Regions from separate parts of the Homo sapiens genome. Here all the other regions are linked to region 1. Evidence: promoter capture Hi-C in 16 types of primary human blood cells and fetal thymus (Javierre and others, 2016). All regions are on one chromosome and are shown on one strand. The core of a region is centred on a gene start or on the middle of the fragment in contact, and the rest is flanking DNA. Distances in the headings are between cores, read along the strand shown.

Region 1 (6,002 bases), core at 1,911-4,410:
CTAACATATTTTGGTGCCGTGTCTCAGATATATTCTGCTGCTGGCAGTTCAAAGGCCAATTGTATTTTCTTTCCCAACTTAGCTCAGAAGTCTTCCTGCATCTATTCTTTTCTTCATCTGATCCGTTCCCCAAATTATGCCAGAGTGATTTTCCTAAAGCATAAATCCCATCATTTGCCAGCTTAAAATATTATTTAATATATTCTCATTGCTCTTAGGATGAGAAAATAATTCTTGACATAGTCCACATGACCCTACATGGTTTGCCCCTACTGACCTTACCTCTAACCAGACCTTCCATAACTCCAATCATACTGGTTTCCATTCAGTTTCTAATCCCTCTGCCACTCCCTTACTCCCATCCCATTTCCCAGCCCACCCATCAGCAAATGCTATTGGTTCTACTTTGCTAGGTGGTTGTTTGTTTGTTTGTTTAAATAGTCTTGCTCTGTTGCCCAGGCTGGAGTACAGTGGCATCATCATAGCTCACTGCAGATTTGAACTCCTGGGCTCAAGCAATCCTCCTGCCTCAGTCTCCCAAGCAACTGGAACCATAGGCATAAGCCACCATACCCAGCTAATTTTTTCCCCCATTTTTGTAGAGATAGGGTCTTGCTATGTTGTCCAGGCTAGTTTTGAACTCATGGCCTCAAGTGATCCTACCACCTTGGCCTCCTAAAGCACTGATATTACAGGCATGAGCAACTGTGCCAAGCTTTGGTTTTATTTTGAAAACTGTATCTTGATTCCAAACTCTTCTCACCATATCTACTGTTAGAATACTAATAAAGCTACTATCATTTTTCATCTGGACTCTGACCATAGTCTACTGAGGAATCTCTCTTCTCTTGCTTCAATCAATTGATTTTCTGAACAATCACCAACTGGCAGGATGGCTTATCGCTTAAGTCAAATCATGCACTCAGTTGCTAAATACATTCCAATAGTCCCCCATTGCAATTAGAATAAAACCTAAAGTCCTCAATGCTGGCTACAAGGTCCTGCTTGTTCTGGTTCCTGCTTACCTCTCTGTCCCCATCCACTATTGCTGCCCTACTCTTTCAGAACATTCCAGGCACACTGGCCTGCCTTCTTTTGAACTTTCTATGTTCCTATCTCAGCCCCTCTTCTTGTTCTTCCTTCTCTTGGAATCCTTTCCCAAGTTTCTGAATGGCTGCCCCTTCTCATTACTTTGTAAAGAGGTGATCCTTGACCACTTTCCCTGCCCCAAGAAAGTCACTCTCATTGTTTGATTTTATATTTTATGTAGCACTTACAACTCTGCTCAGAACCTTCCACTGGCTTTCCATCTCACTCACATCAAATTCTCTTCCACAGCTCCCAAATAGCACACAATCTGGGCACCATTTCCTTTTGATCCCATCTCATGTCTGTCCCTCCCATCTCACTCTGCTCAGCCGTACTAATTTCCTTGGTGTTTTTCCAATATCTTAAGTGCTCTCCTAACTCAGGGTCTTTGAATGTGCTGTTCCTTTTGCCTGGAATATTCCCATCTAAAAACCCAGTGTGGATTAATCTCTCATGCCATTTAGATCTAGCTCAAGTGTCACTTATCAGACAGAAATACCAGTTTCAGGTGTTTCTGTCTATTGGGAGACTGCCTTTCCCTGGTGCTATATTAAAAAAAATTAGGATAAATAAATAATAAATAAATAAATGAAAAATACATTTTCTCTTCCTTATGATTTTATTAATAACAGTTTCTTTTCTCTGGCTTACTTTATTATAAAAATACAGTATTTAATATATATAAAATAATATGAGTTAATCGACTATGTTATCAGTAAGGCTGATAACAACTGCTTGATCATCACCTGATGGTCACCTGACATTCCTGGTAGGGGGTGGGAGGAGCCCTCTCCTGCCCTGCTCATGCCTGACTAGCTACCTACTGTAACAGAACAATGCCAGATTTCAGGAGTACCAAACTGCTGCACAATTGAAAATCCATGTATGTCTTTTGACTCCCCCAAAACTTAACCACGAATAGCCTACTGTTGACCAGAAGCCTTACTGATAATATTAAACAGTCAATTAACACATATTATGTTATATGTATTTAGATAAATACTGTATTTTTACAATAAAGAAAGCTAGAGAAAAGAAACTGTTATTAAGAAAATCATGAGGAGAAAATATATTTTCTATTTATTTATCGTTTATTTACCCTAATTAATACAGCAACCCCATCCCCATGCCCATCACTCTCTATCCCTCACCTTTTAACTTCCTTCAAAACTAGTTACATTCCTTGACATGTTAAATATTAATTTGTTTATTGTCTGCTTTCTACCAACTAGAATGCACCATGCATGAGAGCAGAAATTGTTTCCTCTAACTATTTTCATTGTTCTTAGAAGTGTTGGTGCTTACGAATAGTTTCTCATTAAATAAATGACAGAACTATTTGAAATTGCCTAATTAACACATGCACCTAATTTCTGTCTTTATGTCTTCACCACCTTCCCTGACATATAAGCCTTTGAAGACACAGCTGTAGAGGAGAAGGGGAGGGTTATTCAACCGCATTTACAAATCATAACTGATTTTAACTTCTGTATTTTCAGACCTCCCCAGCGACTTTCTCTCAGGAAACTCCACTCCCAACTGACAGGTGCTATTTCCAGCCAGTCCTATGCTGTTGCAAATAGTGAGTCCATGAATGCCCTCTGCCGTGTGCATTACTTATTTTCATCAGCAGATCTTCGTAACACACTCCTGGAAGTGGGATGACGGGGTCAAAAGGCGAATCCATACATAAGTTAAATAGATATTGCTCAATTCTCTTCCACGGGGTTCAGACCATTTTGGATTTCTACGAGCAATGAAGACAGTGCTATTCCTCTACACCCTGGCCGGCCAACTGAGCGTGGTTAAACGTGGGGAGGGAGGAGGGTGAGGTTACCAACCTGATGGTTGAGAAAGGGCCTCCGCCCAGCGCGCCCTTCCTCCACCCCCACCCGAGAGACAGCTGAACTCCGGCCGGGACGCGCGTGTTGCCAGTCCAGCCCTGCACCGCGTCCCCTGAGGGCGGGCTGCAGGCGGCCGGGAAGCCTTGCACAACCGGCCCAAAAGAGGAAGCCCAGAAAGTGCTGAAGTAAACACTTTGGGAGACCGTTGCAACATAAAGCGGCCTCTCAGTCTTTGGTGGAACCATCACTAGGCCCCAATCCCTTAGTCCCTCTTGCGTCGAGGCTGCAAAATGGTTCCATTCGCCAGGAGACGCTCCTGAGAGAAGGGCGCGCGCGGCACAGGTAGGGGGAGGCGCAACGTTTCCCAGAATTAAAATAAAATAAAATAAAATAAAATAAAAATCCCTTCAAGGTGGTTGTGTAGTAGGGGTGGGATGGGGGAGAGAAAATCAGGCGCAGACTCGATGAGTTGGAGAAAGCAGCCCCTAACTCGGAGTCCTTTACGCATATGTTTGTCTGTCCCACTGTCTCTAACCAGGGGCCTTCCTTGCACCTCGGAGCAAAGCAGCTCGGATAGCGCCACACGTCTGCGCGCTGCGTGGGAAGGGCAGGGCTGACAGCACTTCCTCCCCGGGGCAGCGACCTGGAGCCCGGGTGCGGCAGTCTGCACCGCGCGTCGCTTTCCCGGCCGGAGTCTCGCCGCCTTCCCGCGCCCCGCAGCGCCCCGCAGAGCAGTCGAGGTAAGTGGCGCTCCCAGTCCCGGGAGCCCTGGGAGCGCCAGCACGGGCCCCTCGGGGCTGTCAGGAACCCGTTTGTCAAGCCCGTCGGGTCCGACGCCGGGGGCAGCTCCAGGATCTGGCCTCGTGAACGCGTGCCCCCAGGCGTGGCCCTCGAGCGCAGCGGGTCCCCAGGGTCCCCTCCGCTGATCTCCACTCTGGACCCGGCTCGCGAGGGTGGGGGTGTGAGGGTTTGGGGTTCGGGTTTGCTTTTTCCCGAGCTATTGCAACAGATTTGACAGATTTCCTGCCCAGGAAATTGCTGCAAGGTCAAACGGGGAACTGCTATGAACCCTTGCACGTCCAGCAGGTCAGCAGGTCAGCAGGTCAGCAGGTCCGGGAGCCCCAGTCTCCCGGAACCTGGAGGGATTCTTGAGGGGCCAAGATTAGATGTGGATTAAATGCCAGCCGTGTGAGAATTTGAGTGTGGCTCGCAGTCTGATGCATCTTAGAGTGTTTCCTTCCTCTAAAACTTTTGGACAACTCTTTCCTCTTTTTAAAAATAACTTTTTCCCCCGAATATTCTCATTTTCATTTTAAAATACCATAAAGATAGATTTGGACACCAGGCACAAGTTTCATAATTTGGCTTGAAATGAATATCCAGAGGGCCTTTTACAGAATGGAGGAAACTAACTAGGGTGTCCTAATGTCTCCAAGAACCTCTGCGCAGGTGTTCCACCAAAGACCTAGCCCGGTGTACCTCTTACTTTCCTGCTAAGGTATTTCTTAGTTCATACCCCTGTGGAACGTGAAATGTGTTTCCTAGACACTCAGGGCATAGCGGTTCAAAAGAACTTTTAATGTGATCCTTGACGAGACGGAGTACTAGAGGAAAGTAACAAAAGAAAAGGGCCCGTGAGTTTATTATGCCCCCAGATGTTTTTTTCTGGTGGCATAACGTGGTTTAAACAAAGGTGCCGGTACTAGCTACTATTCATTTTAAAATCTGGGTCTCCAGAGAGAAATTTCAGAAAGGAAAACTTTGTCCTTTTTCATAAACCTAGAGCAGCGATTTTCCCTCTGGCCTCACTGGAATAATGGGTGGCACATGGGCCAGGACGATGATGCTGGCTGGCGAAATTAGCAAGGATCTGCTGAGAAATACTTTATAAAGTCTTCTAGTGGTATTTCCTGTCTGCTCAACGTGTGTTGTGAAAGGTCTAAGAAATTTAACTTCATCCTTAAACTATTAATAATGTGTGTCCTTAAACTATTAATCCTTAAACTATTAATAATTACTAATATTTGGGTTTTTTCTCAGCACTTGGGAGACCTGGGTTCTGGCTCTTATATCTCCCCCATCTAGATAAGGATGATATTGATTAACTTGCATAACTTCTCCCTGGACTTCAGATAACGTCAGTAAAGTGAGATGATTGGGCTACATTATGTCTGTTCTTAAAATAGCAATTGAGGAGTTGCTATAATTCTTTGAATTGGTCCCAACTGGAATACTGGCAACATTATATCAACATTAGAATTGCTGATCACAAATTTTTTAAAAATGGAGAAAATAATCATAACCATAACAGATTACATTCTGAAATATCAATATCTTTGAGGTCTTTTGTTTCTGAGAAGTTCCTGTAAAAGCGCAGTCAATATCTGGCCTATATGTAAAAAGGCAAATTTCCATCTTATTTGAAAACTGAGATAAGAAACAGCCCAAACTTGAACAGGTCAATATTATATTTTGAAATCTTTAAATTGCTATTTCTCAAGAAATATAACTTTGTAATATGAATTACTTTATGGCATTACTTTAAATCTTAAACACAATACTAGGTTTTATAGTATTTATTACATTTTTTGTATTTTTATATCCTAAGAATGTTCACCAGTTATCCACTATTGATTTGCCTTTTTTCACTCATCAATCAAAGTTTTAAATAGTTCCATATTATTATTAGAATGAGCTACTTATAAAGTTCATTGCCATAAATGTCTGTTTGATATGTCACTTTGAATTTTCTTTAAGCCATCTTACTTCCAAAGAGCATTATTATTTTCATTTTCTTCTAATTCTCTTCAATTTTATTTTAATTATTTTTATGCCTAAAACATTTTAGTGAGTCCACAAATCTTATAATAAATTGTCTGCGTTCCATAGCCTATTGGACCACAATCTTTACAATTTTATAGGACCCCATGAGTTTATATTATGGAGACTACGGTGATCTTAGGAATGCTTGCCTCAAAACAGAACAATTTTTATTAACACAACAGGTATCTTCTCAGTATGAAAATGAATGTGTGTGTTTTATGTCACTGCTGTCATCTAAGAGGCAAG
Region 2 (6,038 bases), core at 3,516-6,015, 360 kb after region 1:
GACCATGTCTCAATAAATAAAAAATAAGTAAAATAAAATTCTCTACATATGTCAGGAAGTACAGTCTAATGACTAAGAGTTGAGTTCAGGAACCAAACTGTGTGGATTTAATAGGTGGTTGTACCATTTACTAACTGTGTGCACATGGGTAAGTTACTTAACCATCCTATGCCCTCAGTTTCCTTACCATACATACGAGATGTAAAAACAAGCAAAAAAACAGTTATCAACTTCACACAGTTACTGTAAGGATTAAATGAAGCAATATATAGAATGGATTTTCAACAGTGTCTGGCATGTAGAAAAATCAATATATGTTAGCTTTTTATTATTATTATTGTTTCCCAGTTCTTATTCAAGTTTTTAACTGAGTTTACCTGATGATATGAAACTAGAAAAAGCTTATAGCCAATAATAAATACAACTCATCTTAGCAATCTTAGACATTAGAAGTTGTTACTTAGGGCCAGGAGTGGTGGCTCATGCCTGTAATCCCAGCACTTTGGGAGGCTGAGTTGGGCGGATTGCTTGAGGCCAGGAGTTTGAGACCAGCCTGGCCAACATGGCGAAATCCTGCCTCCACTAAAAATACAAAACTTAGCCAGGCATGGTGGCGCACGCCTGTAATCCCAGCTACTCGGGAGGCTGAGGTACAAGAATTGCTTGAACCAAGGAGGCGGAGATTGCAGTGAGCCAAGATCGCACCACTGCACTCCAGCCTGGGCGACAGAGCGAGACTGTCTCAAAAAAAAAAAAAAACCAAAAACACCATACCAAGTTACATAACTGTGAAATTTCAAAGCACCACAGTAGAGATTAAATATGCCAAAAGTTTCCAGAGAGAAAAAGATAAGAATATACAAAGGATCTGCAATCAGTGACACATAAGACATCTCAATGACAATATTGGAAGGGAGAAGAAATGAACTATTTCCTTTAAAATATGTTGACTTCTAAAATAAAAAAATTTATTTAACACAGTACTAGAAGTACTAGCAAGAGCCATCAAACAAGAAAAAGAAATAAACAGGCATTTAAATCAGAAAGGAAGTAGTAAAATTATCTCTATTTGCAAATGACATGTTCCTAAATACAGAAAACCCCAAAGATCCCACAGAAAAGATAAAAACACTGCTAGAACTAATGAATTCAGTAAAGTTAAAGAATACAAAATCAACATACAAAAATCAGTAACATTTCTACACACAATAACCCAGATGAAAAGGAAATTAAGAAAACAATTCCATTTATGATAGCATCCAAAAAAAAATACTTAGGAGTAAATTTAACCGAGAAGGTTAAAGATTTGTACACTGAAAACTATAATACACTGATGAAAGAAACTGAAGACACAAATAAATGGACAGATATCCCATGTTCATAGATAGGAATAATTAATATTGTTAAAACAGCCATACTACCCAAAGCAATATACAGATTTAACCCAATCCCTATCAAAATTCTAATGGCATCCTCCACTGAAATAGAAAAAACAATCCTAAAATCCATACAGAGCCACAAAAATCCTAAATAACCAAGGCAATACGGAGAAACTCCAGCCTGGTGACAGAGTGAGACCCAGTCTCAAAAAATAAAATAAAAGAGCTCAAAAGCTTCGTAGGTCTAAGCTGCAATGAGCCATGATTGTGTCACTGCACTCCAGCCTGGGTGACGGAGTGAGACCCAGTCTCAAAAAATAAAATAAAAGAGCTCAAATACACAGAAATAGAGAATGAAACAGTGGTTACCATGGTTATTTTGGGGGGAAAGGAGAGGGAGCTGTGGGTCAAAAGATACAAAATAGCAGATATTCAGAATAAGTTTAGAGATCCATGTACAACACGAGGACTACAGTTAATAAAACTGTATTGTACAGTCATGTGTCACATAACATTTTGGTCAACAATGGACCACATATATATCACACCACATAATAACAATAGTTCCATAAGATTATAATACTGTATTTTTATTGTACCTTTTCTATGTTTAGACATGCTTGGATACACAAATACCACTGTGTTCCAATTGCCTACAGGACTGAGGACAGTAACATGCTGTACAGGTTTGTAGCCTAGGAGCAACAGGCTGTACCATAGGGCCTAGGTATACAGTAGGCTGTACTATCTAGGTTTGCGTAAGTACACTCTATGATGTTCACACAACAAAATGGCCTAGGAATACATTTCTCAGAACATTTCCTTGTCATTAAGCAAGCATGACTGTATTAAGGATTTTCATTAAATAAGTAGATTTTAGGTGCTCATCACTTAACAAAAGTAACTATGTGAAATGACAGATGTGTTTATCTGCTTCACTATAGTAACTAATTTACTGTCTATATGTATTCCATAACACAGCAGTCCCCTTTTTGGCACCAGGGACCGGTTTTGTGGAAGACAATTTTCCACGCACTGGGGAGACAGGCGAATGGTTTTGGGATTAAACTGTTCTACCTCAGATCATCAGGCATTAGATTCTCATAAGGAGCATGCAACTTAGGTCCCTTGGACATAAGGTTCACAATAGGGTTTGCGCTCCTGTGAGAATCTAATGCCACAGCTAATCTGACAGGAGGCAGTAATGTTCGCTGGCCCTCTGCTCACCTCCTGCTATGCAGCCCGGTTCCTGACAAGCCACGGACTAGTACAGGCCAGTAGCTCAGGGGTTGGGGACCCCTGCCATAACGTCATGTTGTAAACCTCAAATATACACAGTAAAATTTATTTTTTAAGTCTAAAGGAAAGTAATTTTTAGTCTAAAACTAAGGACAGTATAGCATAGTGATAACAAGTAGATTCTAAAACCAGACTGCCTGGTTCAAATGATGCCATTTAATAGATGTATTATCCTGAACAAGTTGCCTAAGCTCTTTGTGTATCAATTTCTTCATCTGTAAAATGAGGTTGTTATAAGAATGAATTAATTCATAGGTGTTCATTTATGTAAAAAGCCTGGTATACAATATGCACTCTATAAGTGCTCTAGAAAGCACGACTAGGGATAGGAAGGGATTGCACTGAATTCCGCTTGTCATTGTAATCCCTTAGGTAGTATGTGACTGGTTTTTAATCACATTCACATATTATCACAGGGAGGAAGGGAGGGAGTTGTAAAATGAAGTCCAAAGATAACAGCTTGGTACAGAAGAGTATCTATATGCCTTTAGCTCAAATGAGATAAGCAGAAACACAGAAAATGTAAAAATGAGGGAGAATCTCAGCAGACAGTCAAGAAGGAAGGCAAGGCATGGTAGGAAAAACCTGATCTGGCTGAATAGTGGGGTCAGAGCTGTAAACCAAGACATGCTGTTCAGATTAAAGAAAAAAAGCATGGCTTGTCGATATCAGAGTAGAACGGAATGTTCATATGAAGAAACTGAGTTTTAATCACAATTAACTGACTTTTCAAAGATGAGATTCACTGAGGGGTTTTGATTGACATTAAAAGCATTTTAAATTAAAGGATAATAGGAAAACAAAGTAACAGACTTTATGTCTTGTTAAAGTCATTATTACCTTACTAATATAAGCAATGCCAACTAGAGCAATATGGCACATTAGATAACCTGAAATCTCTCCCACTAGAAACTACCTAAAAATGCTTGATTTAAAGATGCTATGAAAGCATCTTTTTAAAATTCACAGTCCAAAACTAAAGAGAGTAAAGAAAATCCAGGGAGACTAGGAAAAAGAGAGGACAAAAATTCAGAGCAGAAAACATGAACAAGGCTGCAGCTACTCTGTAGTAGCTTTTTGGCCTCTAGCAAAGGAGCTTGTACTTTTATGCCACATGGGGACAAAATTAAAATACCCTTTGGGCTTGCTGAAGGTGGGAAGTTAGAACTGATATAGCAAAAGGGACTTTGCAGATGTGATTAAGAATCTTGAGACGGGGTGCTATCCAGTATTGGGGGGGGTGAATCAAATGAAATCACGAGGGTCCTTACAAGCCAAAGAGGGAGGCCAGAGGGTCAGTACTGATCAGTGATGCCATACGAAAAAGACTCAACTGGCCATTGGTGACTTAAAGATGGATGAAGGGGTCATGCGCCAAAAGTGCAGGTGGCCTCTAGAAGCTGAAAAAAGGCAAGGGAACAGATGCTCCCCTAGTGCTTCTAGAAGGAACACAGCCCTATCCACATATTAATTTTAGCTCAGTGAAACCCATTTCAAACTTCTGACCTCCAGAACTGTAAGATAATAAAGATATGTTATAAGCCACTAAATTTGCGGTGATTTGTTACAGCAACTATAGGAAACTAAGGCGCACACACTGAGGTGGGGTTGGGGAATGTTCTAGAAAGTATACACATTTCCATGAAGTTTTCAGGTTCAAAAAGTATAAATAGTCCTGGACTGACGGCATCCTAGAACACTTAGCAGAACAGGGAATATACCTTCAGCTTAGCTTATCAATGGTATATCCCTTAAGTGGCACAGAGATCTCAACACATGAGATCTTAAAATAAGCTTACAACACAAATTTACAAAACACATAAGGAAAAAAATTCACCACAAGCAGGAGTCAGCATGTACACATGTAACAAATCTCCGAAGGAAGTTAATCCAAAAGAAAGAAAGGAGAAAAAAGAGACAGAACAGATGACATAAGTAGAAAACACAAAATGATGTTGTTTCATTTGAATTCAAATATATCATTAACTACATTAAATGTAAATTCAATAGTACTCCTATTAAAATAAGTATCACTGTATTTTTGTGAATCCAGTTATATGATTTCTTAGAAGAGGCAATTTTTTTAGCTTTTTTCCAGTTCCATCTCCCAAAGCTCTGTCATCCAGACAAATCTTTAAAAACAGAAAAAAACTGCAAGAATAAAAAAGATATATTCTGCATATTAATATATAGTATATTAATATAATATCGAGAACTATAATCAGAAAAGATTCTTAGAGGCAGAGTGTCCTGTATTCCATAATTATGCTGCATTTTCTCAAAAATATTTTAAAATACATTTAAATACTCAATGAAGGCTTTATAATTTACACTGTGCTCTTCAAAAAGAACAAACCAAAAGCAATAAAGAAGCTGCTTGCCAAGCTTCGGGGGAGGGGGGAAATTAGAAAAAATGAGCACGTGCAACTGCACATAAAACTGCAGGTGGCTAGAAAGGAAACCAACTGAAGGGGAAAAAATCTAAAAATAGGCTTAGAACAGTGATTCTGACTGCCTTCGTTTGGATTTTCAAATCATTTCAGAGCTAAAACTGAGAGATGAAATGTGTACAATTTGTTTTAACCAAGAAGGCTATTTTAGAAATAAGTTCTGCCATAATTAAATATACTTATTTATGCGTTAGAAGTTCAAGTACCATTTGCAATTCAAAACCCAAAGAATTTTTCAATTAGAAATGATCTTAATGACAAATTATAGCAAAATCAATTATTCCCAATTAATTGAAAAAAATTCCTCTGACAGTACATTTTGCTGCTCTCTTTCAAAATATTTTTAGGGACATCACATCTTGATGGGCATGCCAAGTTCTCTACAGGCTTCCTCTAGATTTCCATATTATCACAGATTCTAAAGACACAAAACTAAAAACACTTGGAAAACAATTTTACAATATAAACCACAAAAACGTAAAAAAAAAAAAAAAAAAAAATTAAGACAGTGGGAGCAGCTTTTAAATAGGAAACTACTGCCTTCAAAAAGTCATCCTTAATATATCACCTGAATCGGGCCGGGCGCAGTGGCTCAAGCCTGTAATCCCAACACTTTGGGAGGCCAACCTAGGTGTATCACCTGAGGTCAGGAGTTCAAGACCAGCCTGGCCAACATGGTGAAACCCCGTCTCTACTAAAAATACAAAAAATTAGCCGGGCATGGTGGCGTGTGCCTACAGTCACAGCTACTCAAGAGGCTGAGGCAGGAGAATCGCTTGAACCCTGGAGGCAGAGGTTGCAGTGGGCCAAGATCGCGCCACTGCACTCCAGCCTGGGGGAAAGAGTGAGACTGTGTCTCAAAAACAAAAACAAAACTCCTGAATCTAATCACAAGGAAGCATTACACATA
Region 3 (5,778 bases), core at 553-3,052, 410 kb after region 1:
TTCAAGTCTTTTGCCCATTTTCTAATCAGATTATTTTTCTATTATTGAATTATATGAGTTCTTCATGAATTTTAGATATTAATCCCTTATCAGATAAATGGTTTGCAAATATGTTTTCCCAGACCATAGGTTGTTACATTTTGTTGATTGTTTCCTTTGTTTTGAAGAAGCTTTTCAGTTTGACGTCATTCCATTTATTTATTTTTGCTTTTATGGCCTAAGCTTTTAGTGTGGAATCCAAAAAGAAAATTCTAGCTGGACACCAGCACTATCTGGTGAGCTTTTTAAAAAATTCCAGAGCCTGAGACCCAATCTAACCCTCTCCCCCTAAAAAGATGCCAATTTCATTGGTCTGGGGAGAGGCCATTAGCTATTGATATACCAGTACAAAAATGTGTACAATTAAACAAGAAAATTCAAAATACAAAAATCAGGGTTTTACCATATAATATAAAAGATAAAGGCAAGACATTAATATACAGACCACAGAGTACTACATAATAAATTAGAGCCACAAGAGGCTAGGCGCAGTGGCTCACGCCTGTAATCCCAGCACTTTAGGAGGCCGAGGAGGGTGGATCACAAGGTCAGGAGATCAAACCATCCTGGCCAACATGGTGAAACCTCACCTCTACTAAAAATATAAAAATTAGCCGGGCATGGTGGTGTGCACCTATAGTCCCAGCTACTCGGGAAGCTGAGGCAGGAGAACTGCTTGAACCCGGGAGGAGGAGGCTGCAGTGAACCAAGATCTAGCCACTGCACTCCAGCCTGGGCGACAGAGCAAGACTCCATCTTAAAAAGTAAATAAATAAATAATAAATTAGAGCCACAAGTTTGGCTCTGGCTTTTGCATGAATCCACAAAGATAAAGGAAAAAAGATTATATGATTTATAGTATCCATAGGTCAAAATATCTTGGTGGGGTCCAGCATGGTGGCTTACACCTGTAATCCCAGCACTCTGGAAGGATGAGGTGGGCAGATCACCTGAGGTCAGGAGTTCAAGACCAGCCTGGCCAACACAGTGAAACCCTGTCTCCACTAAAAAATACAAAATTAGCCGGGGTGTGGTGGCATGCACCTGTAGTCCCAGATACTTGGGAGGCTGAGGCAGGAGAATCGCTTGAACCTTGGAGGCGGAGGTTGTAGTGAGCTGAGATCATGCCACCACACTCCAGCCTTTATGACATAGCAAGACTCCGTCTCAAAAAAAAAAAAAAAAAAAAAAAAAAAAAAAAATATATATATATATATATATATATATATATGTAGAAGCAAAGCTTTTCCTAAAACTTCCATGTGACTATAAAAGGAATGTATTGCAATTCTCCTCAGTGATGTAAATATTAATATATCACACATTCTTCCCACCTTGCAGCACCGTACCTCCTCACCCAAAAAGCAAAAATGAGAGTGGCAGGATTTTCATAGAGATAGTACCATGCTGCCTTTCTTCTTCTTCTTTGTGGTAGTGGGGCAAGGTAGGAGAGGTAGGATGGGTGGAAGAAATACCCAATTGAGTTGAAAAAAAAAATAGCTCTATATACCACAAGACATTAATAAACACTAACAATAAAGCCACTCATACAAGCAGTCCCCAAGTTATGACAATTAGCTCATACAAAAGTGATTGATTCAGACCTATAACTCATTTATCTTATATTTAACCACTCATCCAGTGGTTTCTGTTGATTATGCCAAACGTGTCTAGACAAATGAACAGAATATGTCAGGACATAGCAAAAGCACAATTTCATCTTACCAGTGTTAAATTTAAAACACGGTTTCTATTTTCAAATCTGGGAAACACTGATCCGATCTTCTACAGTTTAGTGACAGCAGTTCAAGTATGTTTTTGACTAAGACTTCATCTCCTCCACCTTCCCTGGCACTTGACACTACTCACAGCTCTCCCAAACATGCCTTGCTATCTTTCTGTTCCTACTACCTATATATATCCCTTGCCTCCCAATCCCCCTTCCCCTCAACTCTTTAAATTAATGACTCGGCTAAACTCATTCTTTAGGAGAAACTTTGCCTGAGAACCCCCAAACACTACTGTTCCTTAGAATTCTCTCTAAAAGTTCCTTTCAAAAAGAGATCATTTTCAACCCACGTCATATGTATTTGAAATTTATAAAGACTACACATATAAAAATACCAACAATCTGTAATGCAGAAGGTTATGATAGAACATCAAAATTAACATCAAAAGACATGCACCTCATGCCACAACAGTATATAGCCAGAGAAACTGGAATCCCTTTCCTCTCCTCTTCCCTCTTCCCTTCCCTGTTCTGCCCACGCAGCCAGCTAGCAGTCAAGCTTTATTCCTATTCTCCAACCCACTGCTCTGCCAATCAATTCAATTGTGGAGGAGTAAAAGCTGGAAAGTGTCAGAAACCAACTGTGTACTAACAGCTGAAAAAGAGGGGGTCTATAGATTCACTTCTGTGACTGCAAATTACCTTCTGTAGGCGCATTAGCTTTATGCTAGGGGAAAATAGATACCGGTTAAATAAGCCTTCTTTGGGTTCTCCTTTTCCCGCAGCCACCCATATCTCCTTCACCAAGGCTTGCTGATTCTTATCTTCCTTTTCAATCTTACTACAGCTATCTCAATTCATGAAATACTCTTTACAGTGAGACAAATGTGACAGTCCTCTAACTGGTCACTGTCCATCCAGTCTCTCCCTTCTCCAATCCATCCCGTACCAATGTAAGATGAATCTTCCCAAAGCACATCCTTTGTACAAAAACTGGAAAGGCAGAAAACAAGCATACAGTTTGAGGGGAGAGGATAATAGCAGTATGGGGAGAAGAAGAAGAGACATTTTAGGTTTGACTTTTAATACAACTGTATTGACCCTTTTATAGGAACATATTACCTAAATGCTTTAAAAAAAAAAAAAGCTGCTTGACATATTCTCTTTCCATAAGCAAACTTCTGACTGCCCAAACTAAAATCAAAACCCTTTCAAAAATAACAATTATTTTTCTTCCATACAGAACATTTCCTCATTTAACTATACATACTATAGACCAATTTTCTTTTTCTTAGATTTAAGGCTTTTCAGTGATTTCTACATAGCTTATAAATAATATAGACACAAAGCAGGGCATGATGGCTCACACCTATAATCGCAGCACTTTGGGAGGCTGAGGCGGGCGGATCACCTGAGGTCAGGAGTTCGAGACCAGCCTGACCAATATGATGAAACCCCATCTCTACTAAAGCTACAAATACTAGCTGGGTATGGTGGCATGTGCCTGTAATCCCAGCTACTTGGGAGGCTGAGACAGGAAAATCACTTGAACCCGGGAGGTGGAGGTTGCAGTGAACCAAGATCGTGCCATTGCACTCCATCCTGGACAACAAGAGCGAAACTCTGTCTCAAAAATAATAATAATAATATAGACATCATACCACCACATCATAATACCTAACAGACAGTCTTCCATAGAGTAGGCAATTAACTATTTGTTGAATGAATCTTTCTCTATTTCAGTTCAACAAATCCCAATAGCCTCAAATACTCCTCTTTTTAGAAAAGAAAAATAATAGTCACAGTCTACCATGATGAGTTCAGGCACTGAAGATTTTAGAAAAAATGGACAAGCACAGTGGCTCATGCCTGTAATCCCAGCACTTTGGGAGGCCGAGGCAGGCAGAGCACCTGAGGTCAGGAGTTCAATACCAGCCTGGCCAACATGGTGAAACCCCGTCTCTACAAAAAAATACAAAAAGTAGCCAGGCACGGTGGTGGGTACCTGTAATCCCAGCTACTGAGGCTGAGGCAGAGAGACTTGCTTGAACCTGGGAGGTAGAGGTTGCAGTGAGCTGAGATCACACCACTGCACTCCAGTCTGGGCGACAGAGTGAGACTCCGTCTCAAAAAAAAAAAAAAGATTTTAGAAAAACCATCACCAATTGCTACCATCACCTCTAGACTAGCCACCCTCCAATCTGTTCTGAACTCCTTCCAATCTGTAGTCAATCCTCCTTCCAATCTGTTCTCCACTCTAAACAAGAGTAAACTTCATAAAAAGTAAAAATTATATCATCCCATTGCTGAAAACTTTCTTTCTCTTTTCTTTTTTTTTTTTTTTCTTGAGGCAGAGTCTCACTCTGTTGCCCAGGCTGGAGTGCAGTGGCGTGCTCTCAGCTCGCTGCAACCTCCGCCTCCCAGGTTCAAGTGATTCTCCTGCCTCAGCCTCCTGAGTGGCTGGGACTACAGGCAAGCACCACCATGTCTGGCTAATGTTTGTATTTTTAGTAGAGACGGGGTTTCACCATGTTGGCCAGACTGGTCTCAAATTCCTGACCTCAAGCGATGGGCCCACCTTGGCCTCCCAAAGTGCTGGGATTACAGGCAGGAGCCACTGCGCCCAGCCTTGCTTAAAACTTTCAATGCCTTCTCATCAGCCTCAGACAAAAAAAAAGATCAAAATCCTTATCTGGTACCTACCTACCTCTTCACAGATGACTCTGTTTACTCTGAAGTACACAAGTGTGTAACTTGTTCAAAATCACTCTGCCTTCACTCTTACCTTTGAGCCTGTACACATGCTGCTCTCCCCTCCACAGAGACACTGTTTTCCCTTCCCCCAAATGTTCTCGGTTAACATATATTCACCCTTCAGATCTCAACTCCAACATTACTTCTATGACACACCAAGCTAGGTGGCAGCACCTGATGTATACTTTCATGTCACATGTACCTTCCCTAGATGTAATTTATTATAGTTTGAGTTATTTGATTAATGGAGGAGGCCAACTATAAAATCACTTGAGGGTAGAAACTGTATCTGATTGACAAAACAGTCTGACACATAATACGTGTAAAAAGTCGCAGAATAACTGAGTATGTGACAAACTAATATACTCTGTCATACTAAGAAGCACAATACATATAATTATAAATATATTTCATTTTACTGTGCATTCCTTTTGGAACTCCTGTGGTTCCAACTTGGGAGCCTATACAATTTTGCCAGTTTTCTTTGGGATCTTTATGGTATTATCTGATTATTCTAAAAGAATAAGAGTTATCACCAGTTTGTCTTCCCACTATTCAAAGCAAACTCTGAGGACCAGGCATGGTGGCTCACGCCGGTAATCTTAACTCTTTGGGAGGTCAAGGTAGGCAGATCCCCTGACCCCAGGAGTTCAAGACCAGCCTGGAAAACATGGTGAAACCCTGTCCTTAACAAAAAAATAACAAAAATTAGCCAAGCGTGATGGTGCACACCTGTAGTCCCAGCTACTTGGGAGGTGAGGTGGGAGGATTGCTTGAGCCCAGGAGGTTGAGGCTGCAGTGAGCTGAGATCGCACCACTGTACTACAGCCTGAGCAACAGAGAGAGACCCTGTCTTTAAAAAAAACAAGCAAAATTTGATTATTATTAATTTTAAGGGAAGATGGAACTGAAAAAAAATAGGCTTCTCAAACCTTTTAAAAGAGATATTATTTAACAGAGGAAAAGATAAATGCAAAGCCTTTTTTCATGGAAAACATAAAATGTATATAATAAAAGGGGGAAAATGCCAGAGAAACAACTAAAACAAAAAGTGTACCCTCTGTTTTTTGTCCTTTTCTCCCACTTCAGTTGGGTTATTCTTATTTTTTAAGATGTTGGGCCAGACCTGGTGGCTCACACCTGGGAGGCTCACATGTTGGGAGGCCGAGTCAGGAGGATTGCTACGTTGGGAGGCCGAGTCAGGAGGATTGCTTGAGCTCAGGAGTTCAAGACCAGACTGGACCACATGCCAAAAC
Region 4 (6,366 bases), core at 2,434-4,933, 380 kb after region 1:
ATTTAAATTTCAGTTACATTCAGGTGCAGTGGTTCACACCTGTAGTGCCAGCACTTTGGAAGGCCAAGGTGGAAAGATCACTTGAAGCAAGGAATTTAAGACCAGCCTGGGCAACACAGCAAGATCCCATCTCTACCTCACCACCCAAAAAAATTAGCTGGGTATGGTGGTGTGCATCTGTGGTCCCAGCTACTCAGGAGGCTGAGGCGGGAGGATCATTTGAGCCCAGGAGTTCAAAGCTGCAGTGAACTATGACTGTGCCACTGCACTCCAGCCTGAGCAACAGAACAGGATTCTGTCTCATAAAAACATAAAAATAAATAAATTTCAGTTACCACAAGAACTATAAATAATCGCACAAAGCAGAAACTTCGCTGCTAGGTCTGAAGTCCACATAAGTAACAGATGAGCATCATTACTGGTTACCAATCGTGTCTTTGTTTCAAAGTTTATTGGTGAATGGTCTCTGTACATCTGATATTAAGTTTATCCACAGACTACAAAGTACATAGTTGTGCTGCTTCCTTGTCCCCTAAATGATAAGCCATTGTGACATTTTACAAAACTGGGTATCAAAGAGAGAACTGGCCAACAAAGATGAAACTGCAGCAAATACATGAAAAGTGATAATGCTAGATAGAGGTGAAATTCGAATTGAATGTAAATGGGATTAAAACAGAAATAATGCATACAGGAATGCTAACATTGCTGCCATTCAGGAGACTACAGATATGCAGCCAGAAGAATATCATGAAGGCAAATGTATTAACATAAATGAACAAAGTGGCTGAGAAGAAAGGGAAGAAGATACTACAGATAAAATGATACCCATAAAAACTTTATGTTAAAGAAACTCTAGAAGATATTTCACAACATTTAAAATCCAAAGGATAAAATGTTGAGAGGAGCTGATCCACCCAGAGAAAGGAGAATGACAATTTGCCAAGGCACAGAAAAAAATGTGTGCTTCATAACAACTTACACAGTGAGAAGGTAGCAAGCACTATTCAAACTACTTTCTTAAGAAATAAAACCCTTTAATTCTCAATACCTCGAATGTTTTACATTATGGTATACTAAACATTAGCATAACTTTTTTTTCATTTCTCTATTCATTTATAACAAAAAGAGAGATTTTAATGTTTTGACAAAAAATTTTACAGATCACAGAACAACCATAATTTTACCCATTGACTAGTAAGATTGTTTTGTATACCTTGAGCATGCATCACCATTTTTTATAATCTCCAATAACCATGCAAAATAATCACTGCCTATACATAAAATGTACAGTGATCCTCTGGTTATAATCCATGTATAAGAATCAACTAAAAACTAGGTTCTATTATATTTTTCCTAAGTAATTTTGCAAAGACTTTGTGTGTGTGTGTGTGTGTGTGTGTGTGTGTGTGACGGAGTCTTACTCTGTCGCCCAGGCTGAGGTACACTGGTGGGATCTCAGCTCACTGCAACTTCTGCCTCCCGAGTTGAGGCGATTCTCCTGCCTTAGCCTCCTGAGTAGGTGGGATTACAGGTGCCTGCTAGCACGCCCGCCTAATTTTTGTATTTTTAGTAGAGACGGGGTTTCACCATGTTGGCCAGGCTGGTCTCAAACTCCTGACCTCAAATGATCCACTCACCTCAGCCTCCCAAAGTGCTGGGATTACAGGCCACCATGTCCGGCCAAGAGATTTATTTTAATTCAGTAAACACTGCAAACCAGTCATTTGCCAGACATTGTGCAAGTCCTCAAGAACCAGCATGAATCACTCTACACTAGATTCTGTTCTACAAAAAAAATTATTTTAGCAAAGTTCCAATCTATATCAATTTTGTCCTAAAATCTAAAAAGGCAACAGGATACCACCAAACATGAAAATAAGCTGGGCACAATGGCACATGTCCGTAGTCCCAGCTACTCAAGAAGCTGAGGTGGGAGGATCACTTGCGGATGGAGAGTTAGTGCTTAACAGGTACATTGTTTCAGTTTGGAAAAAGGAAAGAAGTTTTGGAGATGAATGGTGGTGATAATTACAAAACAATGTCAAGGTACTTAATGCCACTGTACACTTAAAAATGGTTGAATGATCAATTTTATCTTATGCATATTCTGCCACAATAATAAACAGGGATAAAAAGCAAAAATCTCTTTTAGATATACAAAAGCTGAAAGAACTCATCACCAGCAGAATAGAGCAACACTTCATGCTAAAGTATTCCAAGGGAATAAAAACCACCAAAACTCTGGGCTATAAAACAATTCCTGGCCGGGCACGGTGGCTCATGTCTGTAATCCCAGCACTTTGGGAGGCCGAGGCAGGCAGATCACTTGAGGTCAGGAGTTTGAGACCAGCCTGGCCAGCATGGTGAAATCCCATCTCTACTAAAACTACAAAAAAAAATAGCTGAGCATGGTGGCGCATGCCCGAAGTCCCAGCTACCCGGGAGGCTGAGGCAGGAGGATGGCTTGAACCCAGGAGGCAGAGGTTGCAGTGAGCCAAGATGGTGCCACTGCACTCCAGCTTGGGAGACAGAGCAAGACTCCATCTCAAAAAAAAAAAAAAAAAAAAAAAAAAAAAAAAAAAAATTCCTAACAAATTTGAAAGGACTCAAATCATATAATGTATATTTTCTGATCAGAAATAATAACTATGGGTAAATATAAAGGAATTAATTTCCTCATATTAAATCTCATTCAAAGCTAGTTGCTTTTCAAAACAAAAATAATGGCTAGGCACAGTGGCTCATGTCTGTAATCCCAGCACTTTAGGAGGCCAAGGCAGGCAGATCACTTGAGGTCAGGAGTTTGAAACCAACCTGGCCAACATGGTGAAACCCCGTCTCTACTAAAAATACAAAAATTAGCTGGCATGCACCTGTAATCCTAGCTACTCAGTAGGCTGAGACATAAGAATCACTTGAAACTGGGAAGGTGGGGTGGGGGAAGGCAGGGGCAAAGGTTGCAGTGAGGCAAGATCACGCCACTGCACTCCAGCCTGGACAACAAAGCGAGACCCCGTCACAAAAAAAAAAAAAAAAAAGAGCAAAGCATTGTGGGGTTTAAAACATACACAAAAAGAAAATGCGTGACACAAGCCAGGCGTGGCGACTTATACCTGTAATCTGTAATCCCAGTACTCTGGGAGACCGAGGTGGGTGGATCACGAGGTCAGGGGTTCAAGACCAACCTGGCCAAGATGGTGAAACCCTGTCTCTACTAAAAATACAAAAATTAGCCGGGCATGGTGGCGGGCACCCATAATCCCAGCTACTCACTCGGGAGGCTGAGACAGAGAATTGCTTGCACGTGGGAGGCAGAGGTTGCAGTGAGCCGAGATCGCACCACTGTACTCCAGCCTGGGTGACAGAGCGAGACTCCGTCTCAATAAAAGAAAAAAGAAAGTGCATGACACCAACAGCCCTAAGACAGGAGAGAAGTGGAATCAACTATTACAAAGTCTTAAACATACTCCTGAAGTAATAGCATAGTCTACCTTCAAGTGATATTAAAAAGTTTAAAGATGTTTACCAGAAGCCCTAAGGCAAACATGAATGAAATAATAAAAGAGAGAAGCAGAACAAAGTGTTACACCAAATCAGCACCCCCCCCAAAAAAAATTCACTCCATTAACACACAAGGAGGCAGAAAAAGAGGATAAAAGGAAAGCTGGAATGGTTGTATTCATATCAGACAAAGCAGATTTCTGAAGAATACTACCCAAGATAAAAAGAGGCTTTACAAAGATAAAGGGTCTATTCATCAAGTGGACCTAACAAGCCAAAGCATTTGTGTACCTAATATAGTATCACTTCAAAATACGTAACAGAAAAAAGACTAAAATGCAAAGAAAAATAGACATTCAGAATTATAGTTGGAGATTTCAATTTACCTTCCTTAATAATTGATAAAACAATTAGATAGAATCAGTAAAGATACAGAAGAATTGAATATTATCAACCAACTTGACTTAATGAGATTTATAGACATTCCACCTGACCAGAGAAAAATACACATTCTTCTCAAATGCACACAAAACATTTACCAAGACAGAGCATATTCTGGGATATATAACAATTCTTAATAAATATGAAAGGACTCACAGCATATAAAGTATTATTCAGAATAGCCAAGACACAGCATCAATCTAGGTGTCTATCAATGGATGAATAGGAAAATATGGGGGGGATATACATATACATTTATTTAAACAGACTACAATTCCTATTATTCAGCCTTAAAAAAGAAAATTCTGTTATTTGCAACATGACACAACAGATGAACCTGTAGGACCTTACAGTAAGTGAAATAAGCTAGGCGCAGACAGACAAACCCTGAATGATCTCCCTTTTTCAGATGTGGAATCTAAAAAAATCAAAGCTCACTGAAGCAGAGAGTAGAATGGTAGTTGTCAGAGACTAGGGGGTAAGGGAAATGGGGAGCTGTTGCTCAAAGGGTACAAAGTTTCAGCTATGCAGGATGAATAAGTTCTGGAGATCTAATGTACAGCATGATGACTATAGTTAATAATATAGGGTTGTAGACTTGAAATTTGCTAAAAGAGGAAATCTTAAATGCTCTCGCCACACACAAAAAAAGTAGCTGTGTGAGGTGATAGATATGCTAGTCAGCTTGATAGTGGTAATCATTTCACAATGTATATGTATATCAAAACATCACATTGTACATCTTAAATATATATGATTTTTGTGTCAATTATAACTCAATAAAGCTGCGGGGGAAAGCTACTTAATGAAAAAAAAATCAAATGAGGTGTATTTTTCTGACCAGTAAGAAATTAAATTAGAAAAATCAACAGCAGAAATATCCTTGCAAAACCTGAAAATACTTGCAAACTAAGCAACACATTTCCAATAACCCCTGGGTCAGAAAGAAATAAAAAAGCAAACTTAGAAATTATATTCAGCTAAATGAAAATGAAAGCATAACATATCTAAATGTATGAGATACAGCTAATGCACTTTTTTTTTTTTTTTTTGAGATAGAGTTTTGCTCTGTCACCCAGGCTGGAGTACAGTGGCGCGATCTCGGCTCACTGCAACCTCCGCCTCCCAGGTTGAAGTAATTTGCCTCAGCCTCCTGAGTGAGTAGCTGGGATTACAGGTGCCCGCCACCACGCCCGGCTAATTTTTGTATTTTTAGTAGAGACAGGGTTTCACCATCTTGGTCAGGCTGGTCTTGAACTCCTGACCTCATGATCCACCCACCTCGGCCTCCCAATAATACACTATTTAGAGGGACATTTACAGACCTAAACACCTATGTTAGAAAAGATTAAGGGTCTCAAGTAAATTAAATGACCTTGGCTTTCACCTTAATAAAGTATAAAATAAGGCTGGGTGTGGTGGCTCACACCTGCGATCCTAGCACTTCGGGAGGCCAAGGCAGGCAGATCACTTGAGCCCAGGAGTTTGAGACCAGCCTGGCCAACATGGTGAAACCCTGCCTCTACTAAAAATACAAAAAAGTTCACTGGGCGTGGTGAGGTGCACCTGTAATCCCAGCTACTCAGAAAGGTAAGGCACAAGAAAGGCTTGAACCTGAAAGATGGAGGTTGCAGTGAGCCGAGATCATGCCACTGCACACCAGCCTGGGCATCAGAGCAAGACTCCATCTAAAAAAAAAAAAAAAAGTATAAAATAAGAGCAAATCAATCCCAAGGTAAGGAAAAGAAAAAGAAATAATAAAGATCAGAATGGAAATCAATGCAACAGAAAACAAAAACATAGAAAATTAATAAGGCCAAAGATGTTTTTAATATCGATAAAGTTGGTAAACTAGCCATAATGATTAGTTTAAAAAAGAAAGATGACACCAATTACCAATATGAAGAATGAGCAATGTGAAATTATTATAGATTCTACAGATATTTTTAAAATAAGAGATTAGGCAGGGTGCTGTCGCTCAAGCATGTAATCCCAACACTTTGGGAGGCCAAGGTGGGTGGATCACTTGAGATCAGGAATTCAAGACCAGCCTGGCCAACATGGCAAAACCCCGTCTCTACTAAAAATACAAAAAATTAGCCAGGCGTGGTGGCGAGCGCCTGTAATTCTAGCTACTTGGGAGGCTGAGGCAGGAGAATTGCTTGGACCCAGGAGGCGAAGGATGCAGAGAGCCAAGATCACGCCATTGCACTCCAGCCTGGGCAACAGAGCAAGACTCTTGTCTCAAAAAAAAAAAAAAACAAAGCAGGAGGATTATTATAAATGTTTTATGCAAATAAATCTGTCAATTTAGGTGAAATAGCTAAATTCCTAGAAAGATAAAAAGCTCACTCAAGGAAAAACAAATAAACAGAATAGGCTTGTATCCACAAAGGAAATTAAATATGTAGTTAAAATCCT

Evidence for each region. Contacts are between HindIII fragments. The CHiCAGO score rates a contact against its expected background, and 5 or more counts as called.
Region 2: a contact is called between a fragment that was not itself captured here and the fragment with the promoter of APBB1IP in region 1, in 2 of 17 cell types (fetal thymus and total B cells). The highest score is 8.0, in fetal thymus.
Region 3: a fragment that was not itself captured here is called in contact with the fragment with the promoter of APBB1IP in region 1 in 6 of 17 cell types (total B cells, activated CD4 T cells, naive B cells and 3 more); the score reaches 6.5 in total B cells.
Region 4: a fragment that was not itself captured here is called in contact with the fragment with the promoter of APBB1IP in region 1 in 1 of 17 cell types (neutrophils); the score reaches 5.1 in neutrophils.

Annotation. Positions count from the first base shown.
Region 1 is chr10:26,435,181-26,441,182 of GRCh38, forward strand. It overlaps APBB1IP (amyloid beta precursor protein binding family B member 1 interacting protein), which reads left to right and starts at 3,161. Exons shown (of 15, transcript NM_019043.4): 1 at 3,161-3,275; 2 at 3,472-3,673. RefSeq lists enhancers at 2,478-3,007, 2,725-2,854, 3,415-3,494. The HindIII fragment of the contact is 5,297 bases long and covers 714-6,002 here.
Region 2 is chr10:26,794,398-26,800,435 of GRCh38, forward strand. All of the region lies in intron 2 of ABI1 (abl interactor 1), which reads right to left. Among named protein-coding and RNA genes, the nearest start is that of ABI1, 64 kb to the right of the region's middle. The HindIII fragment of the contact is 591 bases long and covers 4,471-5,061 here.
Region 3 is chr10:26,842,246-26,848,023 of GRCh38, forward strand. All of the region lies in intron 1 of ABI1 (abl interactor 1), which reads right to left. Among named protein-coding and RNA genes, the nearest start is that of ABI1, 16 kb to the right of the region's middle. The HindIII fragment of the contact is 1,045 bases long and covers 1,281-2,325 here.
Region 4 is chr10:26,815,609-26,821,974 of GRCh38, forward strand. The region is part of intron 2 of ABI1 (abl interactor 1); the gene reads right to left. Among named protein-coding and RNA genes, the nearest start is that of ABI1, 42 kb to the right of the region's middle. The HindIII fragment of the contact is 7,986 bases long and covers 1-6,366 here.